Regions from separate parts of the Homo sapiens genome. Here region 2 is linked to region 1. Evidence: promoter capture Hi-C in 16 types of primary human blood cells and fetal thymus (Javierre and others, 2016). All regions are on one chromosome and are shown on one strand. The core of a region is centred on a gene start or on the middle of the fragment in contact, and the rest is flanking DNA. Distances in the headings are between cores, read along the strand shown.

Region 1 (6,277 bases), core at 3,279-5,778:
ATGGGTGCAACAAAATCTCAGAAATCACCACTAAAAAACTTATCCATGTAGTCAAAAGCCACCTGTTTCCCCAAAACTATTGAAATCAAAAAAGAGAGTAAAAATATGAATAGAAAATAGGAATAGAAATGAAATATTTAAATAAAATAAGAATGGATCTTATACTCCATAACATGTCATAAGGTCAGTGTATTTACTCAACACTCTGTACCTGAGGTCCCACTATATTTTTAAAAATGAATTAAAGAGGAAAGACTATTTAGGAGTGAGCCCTGAGGCCCTTCCCTATTTATAAGTGAAAATCTGTCAAAGAACAGTGTGAAGGAATAGGTAGTGAAACAAAGTGGAAGTTTGGGAGAGGGAAATACGGAGACTTTGATATTTCAAAGAGCGAGAAAGAGGTATTTCCAAGGAGAAGGGGTGTCAATTGTGTCAATGCTGCTGCAAACATAGGAAACTAATTGTTCATTGTATTTGCACCTTGCAGGTCACTGGTGACCCTGGAAAGGGCAGTATGAATGGAGTGACATGTACTGAAGGCAGATTGTAATAGGATGAAGAAAGAATGAGAAGTGAAGTGAAGATGGTGATCAAATATGTCCTGGAAATGAGGAGGGAGTTGAAGTGGGATGCAAAGTCAGAGCAGCTTTTGTTTGTTTTTAACATGAGAGCTGAGACAGCAAAGTTACAGTATTAACTTATTCTATGGGTCAATTAAGAGAAATAACCAGACAAAGTAAGAAAAAGAGTGGGTAGTGTCTCTGAGGGGTAATGGAATCCAGCACATTGAGGAATTGAAGTTTTTCTGGAGAATGGAGAGAGAGGTTGGTTAACTTTCTGAGTTGGTAATTTTAGTGTTTTGCAAAGTTTCTGTACGTGCACTTAGTCTTAGGAATAAAAAAGTTCTGCAAGACATCCAACCTAAACAGTCATCACCCTTGCTACCTCTCCGCCACTTATCCTTGCACAGAGGCATCCCTTCCAGTTCCTGGGTATATACTTCCACATCTCTAAAGATTACCTCTTGGTTTTTATTTCTGTCTGTCCAGTTTATGGTTTTAGGTATTAGATCATGACTTCTCACTACTGAAGACGAAGATTAATGTTTTTTTTTTCACCGTGTCTGAATCTCTCCAAACTTCTACATTCTTTCCATCTCCCCATCCTTTCAGTATAGTTACATCAACATTTCAGTTAGATCAATATTCAACGTTTGATTTATTATAACTATGGCCATTCAAATTTGATAATGATTATTTTCCCTTTTCTGCAAAATACAACTATCTTTATTTGTCAGTTTAATAACTGTCATGCTTTTTCCCTTTGGTTACTTTTCTAAGACTTATAAATGTAACCCTCAAACTCTCCCCCAATCAGCTAAATTCCTTCTCAGTATATTCAAGGCATTAGCAATTTTATCTTTTTGAGTAAATCTATTCCAGAGGCTGTGACCTGCTTCCATCTGAGATGGTTGCTCTCTAAGGTAAGTGCACAGCTGTCATAGCCTCCTCCAGGCAATATGCCACATCTGTCTCTTGTGTCGAAGACCCTATTTTCTAAGTCCATAATTTCCTCTTCCTTTGTTTACTCCTAGTTACGGTGGAGCACTTACTTGAGGCGTTTTCTTGAAAAGTGTAGATAAGAAGTAAATTTTTTGACATCTTGATCATGTGAAAACATTTTAATTCTCTTCACACACTTGATTTCTCTGGGTATAGAATATAAAGTTGGAAATAATTTTCCGTTAACAATTTGAAGACATCATTCAACTGCTGTCTGGCTTCCGATATTGTTGTTGTGAAGTCTAAGGATTTCTAATCCTTTGCTTATTTATTTTTCTCTCTGAAAGATTCCAGTCTCTTCTCTTTGCCCTTGGTATTCTAACATTTCTTGTTGACATAACTCATTCTGGCTAGTTCATATCTGCTAGTTCTACAATATATTTTTCTGAATTTATTTTTTTAAGGTTTATTCCATTTTTTCCTAATGTTTCCCCTACATTATTCACATGTTGGACATACTGAACTGTTTCTCTAATTTTATTTACTTCTTTTATTTTCCTTCTCTTTGAATATTTGCTCTACTTTCTGGGAGACTTTTATGGGTGTATCTTGCAAATTTTCTGTTAAGCTTCCTCTAGGAAACCCACTGGTAATCTCCCAGGCTGGGAGGTATCCTAAATTAGAATTTGCAAAAGTCTTTAGTTTGAATAAGGAGAACATTTTGATTGATACAATTTGAACCTCGCAATCAATTTTGTCAGCCAGGTGTTGAGATTTAGAACACAGGCAAGAGAAAACCATTGCACTTTTCCCTTGTCCCTCAGCAGGACACCAATCACATCCCCTACCTTAAACAGAAAGCAAAGTAAAACAAACAAGAACAAACCAGGCAAGCATCAACAAGAAGAAAGCAGGTCAATATTATTATCAGACAAGTCCAAAGTTAAAAAAAAAAAACCCAAACTCTAAGCAAAGTAAAAACATTATTTCAAATAGATAACATAAGTCATTCTAAAATGAAGATATCTAGCCTTTATTAAAGGCTTTATGTACGTTTTATTACGAATTAATAAAAATAAATTAGCTAAGTTAATATTTCCTAAATTTTAGTCATTTATATAGCATCTTCATATTATACTGAATATTTTACTTCAAATAAAATGAATAATTAAAAATGGAACTTCATATTACTACTGCAGATAGAAAATCAGTTTCACTAATAAATCGAAGTAAAACACACAAATAAATATGTGGATGTTCCTGGGCATCAATTTTTCTCTTCTATGTACAGGAATAATAATAGGACCTATCTCATAGGGTTGTTTTTGAGTGTTCCAAGAATTAATACATATAAAGTGCTTTGAAAAATTCTAGAACATAATATGTGTCATAGGTAATTTTTAAAAGGGATTAAAATAACCTATTTATAAAAAGGCTATTAATTTGGGTTTTGAAAAGTTAAACTGTATGGTAGAAATAAGAGACATGCTCGAAACAAAAATGAAACAAAAAATAAAATAAAATGAGAAATATACAGCAGGCAAATAATAGCCAATATGAAATTGGTAGAGAAATATCAATATTAAAAAAAGTTTAAAAGGACAAGCAACAATAACAATAAAGAGGGGCACCACACAATGAAGAAAGAGATGATCTATGAAGAAATGATAAACATATGTTCATTAAATAATTTTGTGTAATAGCAAAGAAAAATGTTCTTTATTAAGAAACTGGATAAATAAAATATTTCATATTCATGTGATCCAATATGATTAATTTTAAAAGATCATGGCTATATCTTAAAAGCATAGAGTTCAATTATGCAACAGTAAAACTTTAAAGTAAAATATTAAAACCATTGTTTGTATATTAGTGTATGAAGCAAAAAATACACAGAACTGAAAGGATGCATCAAAATAATGATATACACAATAATGATACCTGCTGGGAAGGAGGAGAACAAAAACAAAACGTCATTCCATTATTAGCAATGTTTTAAAGAATTTGCATTCAGTTTTCTAGTGTGTTTTGATTGTAGTTCAACTATTACAATCTCATTTGAATTTTTATATTTTAAATATGTGTCAAATTTATAAGTCACAAAATAACATAATGTTACCAAAAGGTTTGGCAAGTTTGTAAGTTTGACTCATAAATTTGGCTTTGCAGGTTCTGGACTTTTGATTTTAAGAACATCCGATCGCTCTCTCTTTACTGTCATCTGGTTCCAAGCAATAGAAAAGAGAAAAGATAAAACTGTGGTTCAGATGCAATTTTATATCAATTCCTGCTTTTCTGTAATCAACTATTATATTAAAACAATATGCCTTTAATTTGAAAATGTATAAATTAGCTATGCAAAAAACTGGGAGAACGATATACAAATAATAAAAATTCCGAGGTTCCCTATAATTGTGTACGTCTTCCACAATACATTAAAAAAAAAAAAAGAGTTCTGAGGGTATAGGCTAAGAAGAGAAAGGAAACGGTAGCGATCTCAAAATGATAAGTTAAAAGAAATAAGTAAGTAGCTTATTTTTCAGTTGTGGGATTATGAATAATTACTATTTCATTATCTACACTTTGCTGCACTTCCCAAAATTTCTACACAGAAGATACAATCTGGAAGAAATGAAGAAAGATTTCAGTAGTAAGAACGTGTAATGAGTGATTACATGATAAATAAAACAATAAATATTTCTTTCTAGGATATTTCACCAACCAAACACGACCTGATTCACCAACTAATACTCCCGCCTTCTAACAGCCACACGTAAAAATCAGACCGGCTCCAAGAATAACCTGAGCCTCCTTTCCCATAATTCCCTTCTTTCTAGTTTCCCATGAATCCGAAGGCCTTACACCCCACACTACTACTAGAAAGTTAACCCGCCCCCTCATTCTTTACTGGTCATTCACGATTGGTCCTGCCCCACCTGTCGGTGTGAGGCTGTTGATTGGATAAGAGCGGAGGCCGGTGGGCGGAACGGTTTCTGACAACCGGCGTGGAGGCGTGGCCACAGCCGCCCAGAAATTCTACCCAAGCTCCCTCAGCACCATGTACCGAGCACTTCGGCTCCTCGCGCGCTCGCGTCCCCTCGTGCGGGCTCCAGCCGCAGCCTTAGCTTCGGCTCCCGGCTTGGGTGGCGCGGCCGTGCCCTCGTTTTGGCCTCCGAACGCGGCTCGAATGGTGAGCGCAGGCCGCCATCCCCCGGCCTCCCCGCAGTGACCTTCAGCCCTCCTGCCTGCCGGCCTGGGCGCCCGCGACTTGGCGGGAGAGATTCCCCGGGCGTCCGGGCCGCGCCAGACTCTGGGCTTAGCGCCCGTGCCGGCGTGGCGGGCCTCCCGGCCTCGGGACGCCTCTTCCGGCGCAGGGATGGAGCCGCAGCCCGGGAGAGCGCTTGGGGAGGGACGGGGGCTGTCAGAGAGGGTCCTACTGGGCCCGCTCCCGGCGCCTCCTCGGAGCCGTCCGTGGCGGGCCGAGGCCGGGGCGTTTTGAGGTAACTTCGCTGCTGCTGGCGCGCAGGCCCCCAGCCCCGGGGCGCTGCCCTCAAGGACAGTGCCGGCGTGGGCGGAGGGTGCTGGGAGAGGGGCAGCTCCCGCACCGTCCTGCCCCATAGCTGGGCCTTGCTGGCCGGACACTGGCCGCCTGTGCATCTAGTGGTTTCTGAACTGTGGTTTGTTTCGCCAAGGGGCACTGCACTGCTTTCAGGCCCTCCAGGTGGGGTAGAAGGTTCTTCGAAGATTTTACTTCCTTTGAAATTGCATGCTCAGTTTGTTAGGCTGACTATGGTTTCCCCCGTAATTGTTGTAAAACTCTTCAATTCCGAATACCGCGGGCATAGTGTTCTGAAGCATGTTTGAGCAGATTGGCTAGGAGCTGAATCGGTACTTTTTATTCAGAAAGCCAGCTAAGAACTTAAAGATCCAAGTTCAGGTTATGACATGCTTACGTAAGTCATTTTGCTCTTTAGAGTGTCATCTTTAGGAATGCAGGCTTTTAAAAAGCTTTAAATACATATGTATATTGTTAGGAAACGTTTGAGAAATGATAGTTGAAGAGTTACAGTTCTGCACTGGTGTAGCATGAGGTTTGCAATCTAAGAGATGTGATTTCAAATCCGTATGCAAAGTTGAAATACTTACAGCTACTCAGCAAAACTGCACATGTGAAAATACCATGTAGCGAGTGCTCATTAAATAAGTGCCCCATCTAGGGTATTTCAAAGGGCCAGTACTTTTTCTGGACTCTAAACTTCAAGATAATTTGATTGGGTCACTATACCTACGATATACAACTATACTACAGAATCAGAGATGTTTTGTATTCCTCGAACTCCCTGCTCGAATAATTTTAGGGCATTTTAAAACCTTTACATATTTTTAAATTTATTTATTGTTTATTTAGTGTTTTGTAAAGGGAAGCAGACTGGAGAACTTCTGAATCTATCCTGTTGATGCAAATGTCAAAAAATAGCAGCACTACTTTGCTCTTAGAATTGTAATGTTAGCTAAAATCAGATGGAGGTAGTTTTTGTTTTTTCTAGTTCTGGTACTTTTTGCCCTCTAACCATTCTCAGGTCCAAAATCTCTGTTGGTTTTGTTAAAAGTTCTTCCTGTTGCTAATGTTGAGAATTTCACATAACCCTTGATGCCCTAAGGTACCTTTTATTTAAAAGAACACATACAAATTCATTCAATAGAAAGATACTGTTTATTGAGTGCCTTCCACTTACCAGGCCCTGTAAATAAGACAGTCCCTATGGGGATAGGGT
Region 2 (5,938 bases), core at 1,367-3,866, 7.3 Mb before region 1:
CTTGGCAGTAGATGGAGGAGGCACACTTTAGGTCAGTGGAGGGTAGGTGTGTTGTACTTCTTTCCAGATAAGCAGAGGGGCTGCCACCTTAGTTAGGGATGCTGTGTGAGAGGAGATGACTTTGATACTGGGGGACAGTTTTGAGGCTGAGTGAGAGAATCTTTTCCCCTTTCTCACCTTCTCAGCGGTACCTTCCAGGGATGTGCGGCCCACATTGCTCTGATAATGTGTTTCACCCTTGTAAACAGTGAGACCTTTCCAGTGTTATAAAGGTAGCATCAACTTTAGATCTATAAAGAAACCCCATATGTTCAAGGATTTGTAACTTTTGTTGTGGCCAATCCTTAGTAACATACATACCTGGCCCTCAGGATAGTGGGTCTCCTAAAGGAATGGAAGAGCAGTTTATTGCCTTGGAGTGTCTACAATCTAGTTGGTAGGACAGGCAGATCTTTGTGTAGGAGACCTGGGGGTAGTCAGTGAGGAAGACCAACTCCATGTGGAAGAGATGCCTGGCCAATCAAAGCTGGGTTGCAGTGTTTCAGGGAATTGGCTGAGAATGACTTCCTGAGGAAGCTTCTTGGGCAGGTGACGACCAGGATGCTCCTGCATGTTTGGGGCTTGAGTCTGCCATTTGTTCCGGTCACATCTCCAAGACTCTGATGTTGTGGAAGTGACTCTTCTGTAGGTGAGCAAGAACATATGAAGGCTCAAATTCCTAGGCTTATCTGTCAGCAAACCTTTATTGGATTACTCCAGTGAGTTGGGAAGAAATCAAAGCCAGTCCTGGCATTCTTCCTTCACTCTCTGTGTGGGTTCCTGGGATATGTGTGTGTGTGTGGGTTCCTCTTCTACTGTGTCCATGCTTATAATGGAGCAGTGGTGAGCCATTTGTTTCTGGCATGAGTCAGTAATTTATTTCTGCTCTGCCTGACATTGCATTGAAAACAGCCAATTTTTCTTGCTATTTCTACAGATTTATCATCCTCTGAGGAAATCAGTTGTAGTGAAAAAAGTCTTGGGCTGAGTTTCACGCTACCTCCAACCCCATGATTTATGATTTTTATGGAAGTTTCTTTACGTTTCTGAGCCTCAGTTTCTTCATCTGTAAAGTGAGCAGTTGGTCTAGCTGATTTGCACAACTCATTCTTGCTCTGCTCTGACACAAGTCTACAGTTCTTTCTCAAACTCTTTTTGCTTGTTCCTTGGTGATAGTTTGTAGATAGCACTTTGGGAAAGAGCTGTCTCTCTGTTGCTTGTGGAGGAGGGCTGTGTAATGTGCATTATATGCCTCCCTACAGCCTTCCTTGCCCTGCTCCAGAGAAGGCTTCTGCAGAGGAGAATCCACTGTGGTCTCTTTACTTGGCCTCTACTACTCCTATGTATTTTTCCAGTGTCTGCATAGGCACATGGTAGTAGTAGGAAGAGTCATGCTTGCATTGTGCTGTCTAATAGGGTGGACTAGCTGCATGTGGCTATTTAAACACAATCAATTAAAATTAACATGTAAAAATGCAGTTCCTCGGCCAGGCATGGTGGCTCACACCTGTAATCCCAGCATGTTGGGAGGCCGAGGCAGGTGGATCACCTGAGGTCAGGAGTTTGAGACCAGCCTGGCCAACATGGTGAAAACCCGTCTCTACTAAAAATAAAAAAAGCTAGCCAGGTGTTGTGGCGGGTGCCTGTAATCCCAGCTACTTGGGGGGTTGAGGCAGGAGAATTGCTTGAACCCAGGAGGCGGAGGTTGCAGTGAGCTGAGATCTGCCACTGCACTCTAGCCTGGGTGACAAGAGCGAAACTCCGTCTCAGAAAAAAAAAAAAAAGCAGTTCCTCAATGTTATACTGACAGTGCATAAATAGAATATTCTGTCATCACTGACTCTTCTATCAGATGAGCTCTATGAGAGTTGGAGTACACTGAGGTAGCGTAAGACTTACTTTGCCTCCAGTGAACTTGTGATGTCGCTGGTGCAGGAAAGGTAAAGCAGACCCTCGTCTCTCTTGCTAAACTGCACAACACGTTGTGGAATGTTGTGGGTTGTATAGGGAGGAAAGGTCTAGTAATAGCTTCCCTCATTTGATGACACAGGTGTGGGTACGCCAGTGCTCTGACCTCAGCAGGGAGTCAGTGTCTTCTTGCTGTGTGAGAGAGGCAGCCTGGCTTGAGGGGCACCCTTCACGGAGGAGGCCGGTGGCATTTTGCCCTTCTGTGCTTGGGCTTTCAAGATGAGGAGGAGATTGGGGTGTTTGTCTTTCGAGGTCCCTTTGAGTGTTGACAGTTCACTAGACCATGCACATTGCTCTGATCATGTGTTTCAGTGCTTTAGGTGGGTGTTCATTTCTCTGGATTCTCAGTGCATTTACTGGGTTTCCATCCACCGTCCATAAAAAGCCACCAGGGAGCTTCAAAAATACCCTTACCTGAGCCTTTCCAGACATGTGGATTCTCTTAGTCTGGGTGGGGTGAGAAGGGATTCTGATGTTACAGTCAGAGCCAAATCCACTGGGCCAGGTATATCCCAAAGGTAGAGCGCCTGTTTCGGTATTTTCTGAGGCTCCCGGAAATGGCTGTCCTTCGGATGAGGCCCTGTCTGACCTGGGGCTGGGGCTCCTTTGCAGGCAGGCAGCTCCATGGCCATTTATGGTGGGATTCCTCTGGAAGTTAGAAGGAAGTCAGCTGGTGCCTACCTGGAGCGTGCTGTCCCTCCAGGGAAGGCTGCTGGCTGTGTCTCCTTGTCATGATCTTAGTGGAGTTCTTTTGAGTCCTCCAGGCTCATCCTCAGCTTTCCGAGAGGGTTCCAGTGGAGGGAAGAGGAAAGGAGCGTGGATCTAGGATGGACCTGGGTCTGTTCTGTGACTTTCTCAGCCCCCTCTTAGTGGTTGCATTCTTTCCTCAGATGTGAGTGCTCTCGTTTACCTGCTCCTTTCCAAACTCTCTAGGGTGACTTTGCAACCTCTGTGACCTCATCTAGAAGTATGGGTTTAGCTTTCACAGGACAGTCATCACCCTGGCCCCAGTTACCATTAGTTTGAGTCTTTTGATGGTCTGCACTAGGTGGGGTGGGAGCATCTGCAGCCTGAGTCCCCATGCCTTTGATTCAGTGTCCTGGCATCCTGGGAATCTGACTGCTGTGCCCTGGGAAGGTCACCCTCCCTGCTGGCTGCTGGCTCACTGATGGATGATGCACGTTGATTCAGACTTTGTCCTCCCCAAATTCCGTTTCAGCTGAGTGCCAGGAGTCCCTGGTGAAGCAGGCCAAATGGAATGTGTTGCTGACTGCCCAAAACTGTCCCAGGTCCTCAGTGGATTCCTGCTCAGCCTTTCCCTGGGTGTCGCCTAGGTGGGCTATCCCCCTCCCTCCTGTGGTGACCTTGCCCTCCAGGCTGCTTTGCTCCCCAGGCATCTTCTTGTCCTGTTAGGGAGAGCTTTGTGACTCTGAGGGGACAGATCCCATCAGCAGATGGCTTTCTGTAAATTGCTGGAGGTGCCACTGGGAAGCTAGTTCCCATATAGAAAGATAATGCCCACTCCTGCCACTTGCCAATAGCAACAGCTCTTCTTGTCCTTTTAACAGTAGTAACAACTTATGCTGAGCCATCCAATCCATTGATGATCTTGTCAGGAGCTGGAAGTTGATGACTGGAAGCATTTGAGGCCATGGAATCCAGTGGGGATCCCGTCTTGGACTTTGATTTGCCACATGAACATTGCAGGGTGGCCTTTACCAACTGACCCCCCACAATCAATGTTTGTTGCATTTCCAATCCCTGTCCTTTTCCTACGTGGGCTGTGGTTTTCCTAGATTACAGCACTTCTTTCTTTACTGAGATGTCCTTCCAGTGGTGTCCTCATTCCCAGGAGGGTGGTCACAGTGGAAGGAAAGTGAGATCAAAGGTCGGTCCTGGATCCAGACCCAAGTCTGTCACTAATTTTCCGCCTGGTTGTTTCTCATCTATCAAATGCAAAGTTGCTGAGAAAGAATATTCCAGCAGGAGGTGCTGAAAGAACTGGTCACTCGTCTCCCAGATAGCCTAAAAGCCCCTGTAGGCCTCGTCAAGCCCCAGGAAGCTGGGCCCCCAGGGAGGTAGGTTGCCTTTCAGCTTGACAGACATTGCCTTTTTAGGGCCTGTTGGGGTGATCGTGTCAGTTGCTGGTGATGTCTCTGTTCGGAAGGCACTGTGAAACTTGGAGTTCCATGTGTCTGGTAGTGTTGATGCTGACCCTATGCCTCCTCTGGGGCCCTGAGCTGTGTTGGCTGCCTGTTCTTCCAGAATGGTTGTTATTTTATGGACACTGGGTTGTGGGACACTGTAGATGCATCTACCCAAATACAACAACTTCTAGACCTTCGCCACCCAACACAGGAGCCACATGCCACTGTCTAGGTTGAGATGTGTCACAAGAGTCAAGTGCATACGGATTGTGAAGACTTAGTTTAAAAAAGTAAAAGTATGGATAATAATATTATTTTATGTTGATCACATGTTGAAATATATTTTGTATATATTGGGTTAAATGTATTTTTATAATTTCACTCTTTTTTTAAATTTTTTTACTTTTAAAAAATGTGGCTTCTAGAATTAAAAATTCCATGTGCAGCTCCTGTTACGTTTCTGTTGAATAAGTCTCTTCGAGAAAATTTAGAGCAAGCTTTTCCAACCCGTGGCCTGTGGGCCGCATGCAGCCCAGGATGGCTTTGAACACGGCCCAATGCAAATTTGTAAACTTTTCTTAAAACATTATGAGATTTTTTTTTGTGATTTTTTTTTTTTTTTTTTTTTTTTGAGACTGAGTCTTGCTCCTTCACCCAGGCTGGAGTGCAGTGGCACAATCTCAGACCACTGCAACTTCCGCCTCCCAGATTCAGGTGATTCTCCTGCCTCAGCCGTCCCAGTAGCTGGGACTACAGGTGTGTGCCACCATACCCAGCTATTTTTTTGTATTTTAGTAGAGATGGGCTTTGCATCATGTTGCCCAGGCTGTTCTCAAACTCCTGAGCTCAGGCAATCTTCCCACCTCGGCCTCCTGAAGTGCTAGGATTACAGGTGTGAGCCACTGCGCCTGCCCACGATTTTTTTTTTTTTTTTTAAGCTCATCAGCTGTAGTTAGTGTTAGTGTATTTTATGTGTGGCCCAGGACAGTTCTTCTTCCAGTGTGTCCCAGGGAAGCAAAAAGATTGGACATCCCTAGTTTAGAGCCAGATTTGTGGCCCTCCTTAGGCAGGGTCTACACTGTTGTAGGTAGGTGTGTGCATTTTCATATCCTCATTCCTCGTTCCATTACAGGTTTCTACCTTTGTGTTCTTCCTGTTACTGTAATTAACATGTCAAACCATTTCCTGTATTCTTACCTGCTGACCCAGATCTTTTCAGGATCAAGGCAGGGGATGGGGGGAGGATAGAAGAGGTAGAAGGGACTAAAAGGAAGATTGTGCATGTCAGCCTGACTCCCTCACTGGGTTGCTGAAAGGCCCGAATGAGGTGAGTGGGGGCCAACATCACGGCCATATGAGTGGGAAGTGATTGTGGTGTCACTGCCAAGTGCAAGTCATGGGTCTGGGCAGCAGGCACATGCTGGGCTGGGTCTCTCTGGCCTGTCCAGCCTCCTGTCCAGAGACAGCAGGGGCTGGTGAAGGCAAATCCTATAGCTAGGCACCAGGTATTTCCTGGCACAAGGCCCTTGGCACAGACCAGCACTGCTCCTCAGTAGTGTCCTTAGCTCACCAGGGGCTCTGGGAACTTTTGTGTTTTCTCGGGCAAGGGAGGATGACTTGAGGCCAGTACCCCTCTCAGCTCTCTTCCATTTCATGGAAAGCCCTGGATGGTTCTATTGCTTCTCTCTCCAGTCCTTCCAGGGGCCAGGAAGGCACTCAAACCAGCTTGTCCAGCAACTTTTCCCCAGGACTCTCCCTCCCTCCCACAGGATCTGCTCTATAGG

What was found. Contacts are between HindIII fragments. The CHiCAGO score rates a contact against its expected background, and 5 or more counts as called.
Region 2: a contact is called between a fragment that was not itself captured here and the fragment with the promoter of FH in region 1, in 1 of 17 cell types (erythroblasts). The highest score is 5.9, in erythroblasts.

The regions. Positions count from the first base shown.
Region 1 is chr1:241,518,006-241,524,282 of GRCh38, reverse strand. It overlaps FH (fumarate hydratase), which reads left to right and starts at 4,528. Exons shown (of 10, transcript NM_000143.4): 1 at 4,528-4,692. The coding sequence starts at 4,561. RefSeq lists silencers at 4,414-4,543, 4,366-4,648, 4,824-5,093 and an enhancer at 4,154-4,750. The HindIII fragment of the contact is 3,380 bases long and covers 2,133-5,512 here.
Region 2 is chr1:248,818,550-248,824,487 of GRCh38, reverse strand. The region is part of intron 2 of SH3BP5L (SH3 binding domain protein 5 like); the gene reads left to right. Among named protein-coding and RNA genes, the nearest start is that of SH3BP5L, 4.4 kb to the left of the region's middle. RefSeq lists an enhancer at 2,579-3,778 and a silencer at 5,304-5,598. The HindIII fragment of the contact is 4,075 bases long and covers 579-4,653 here.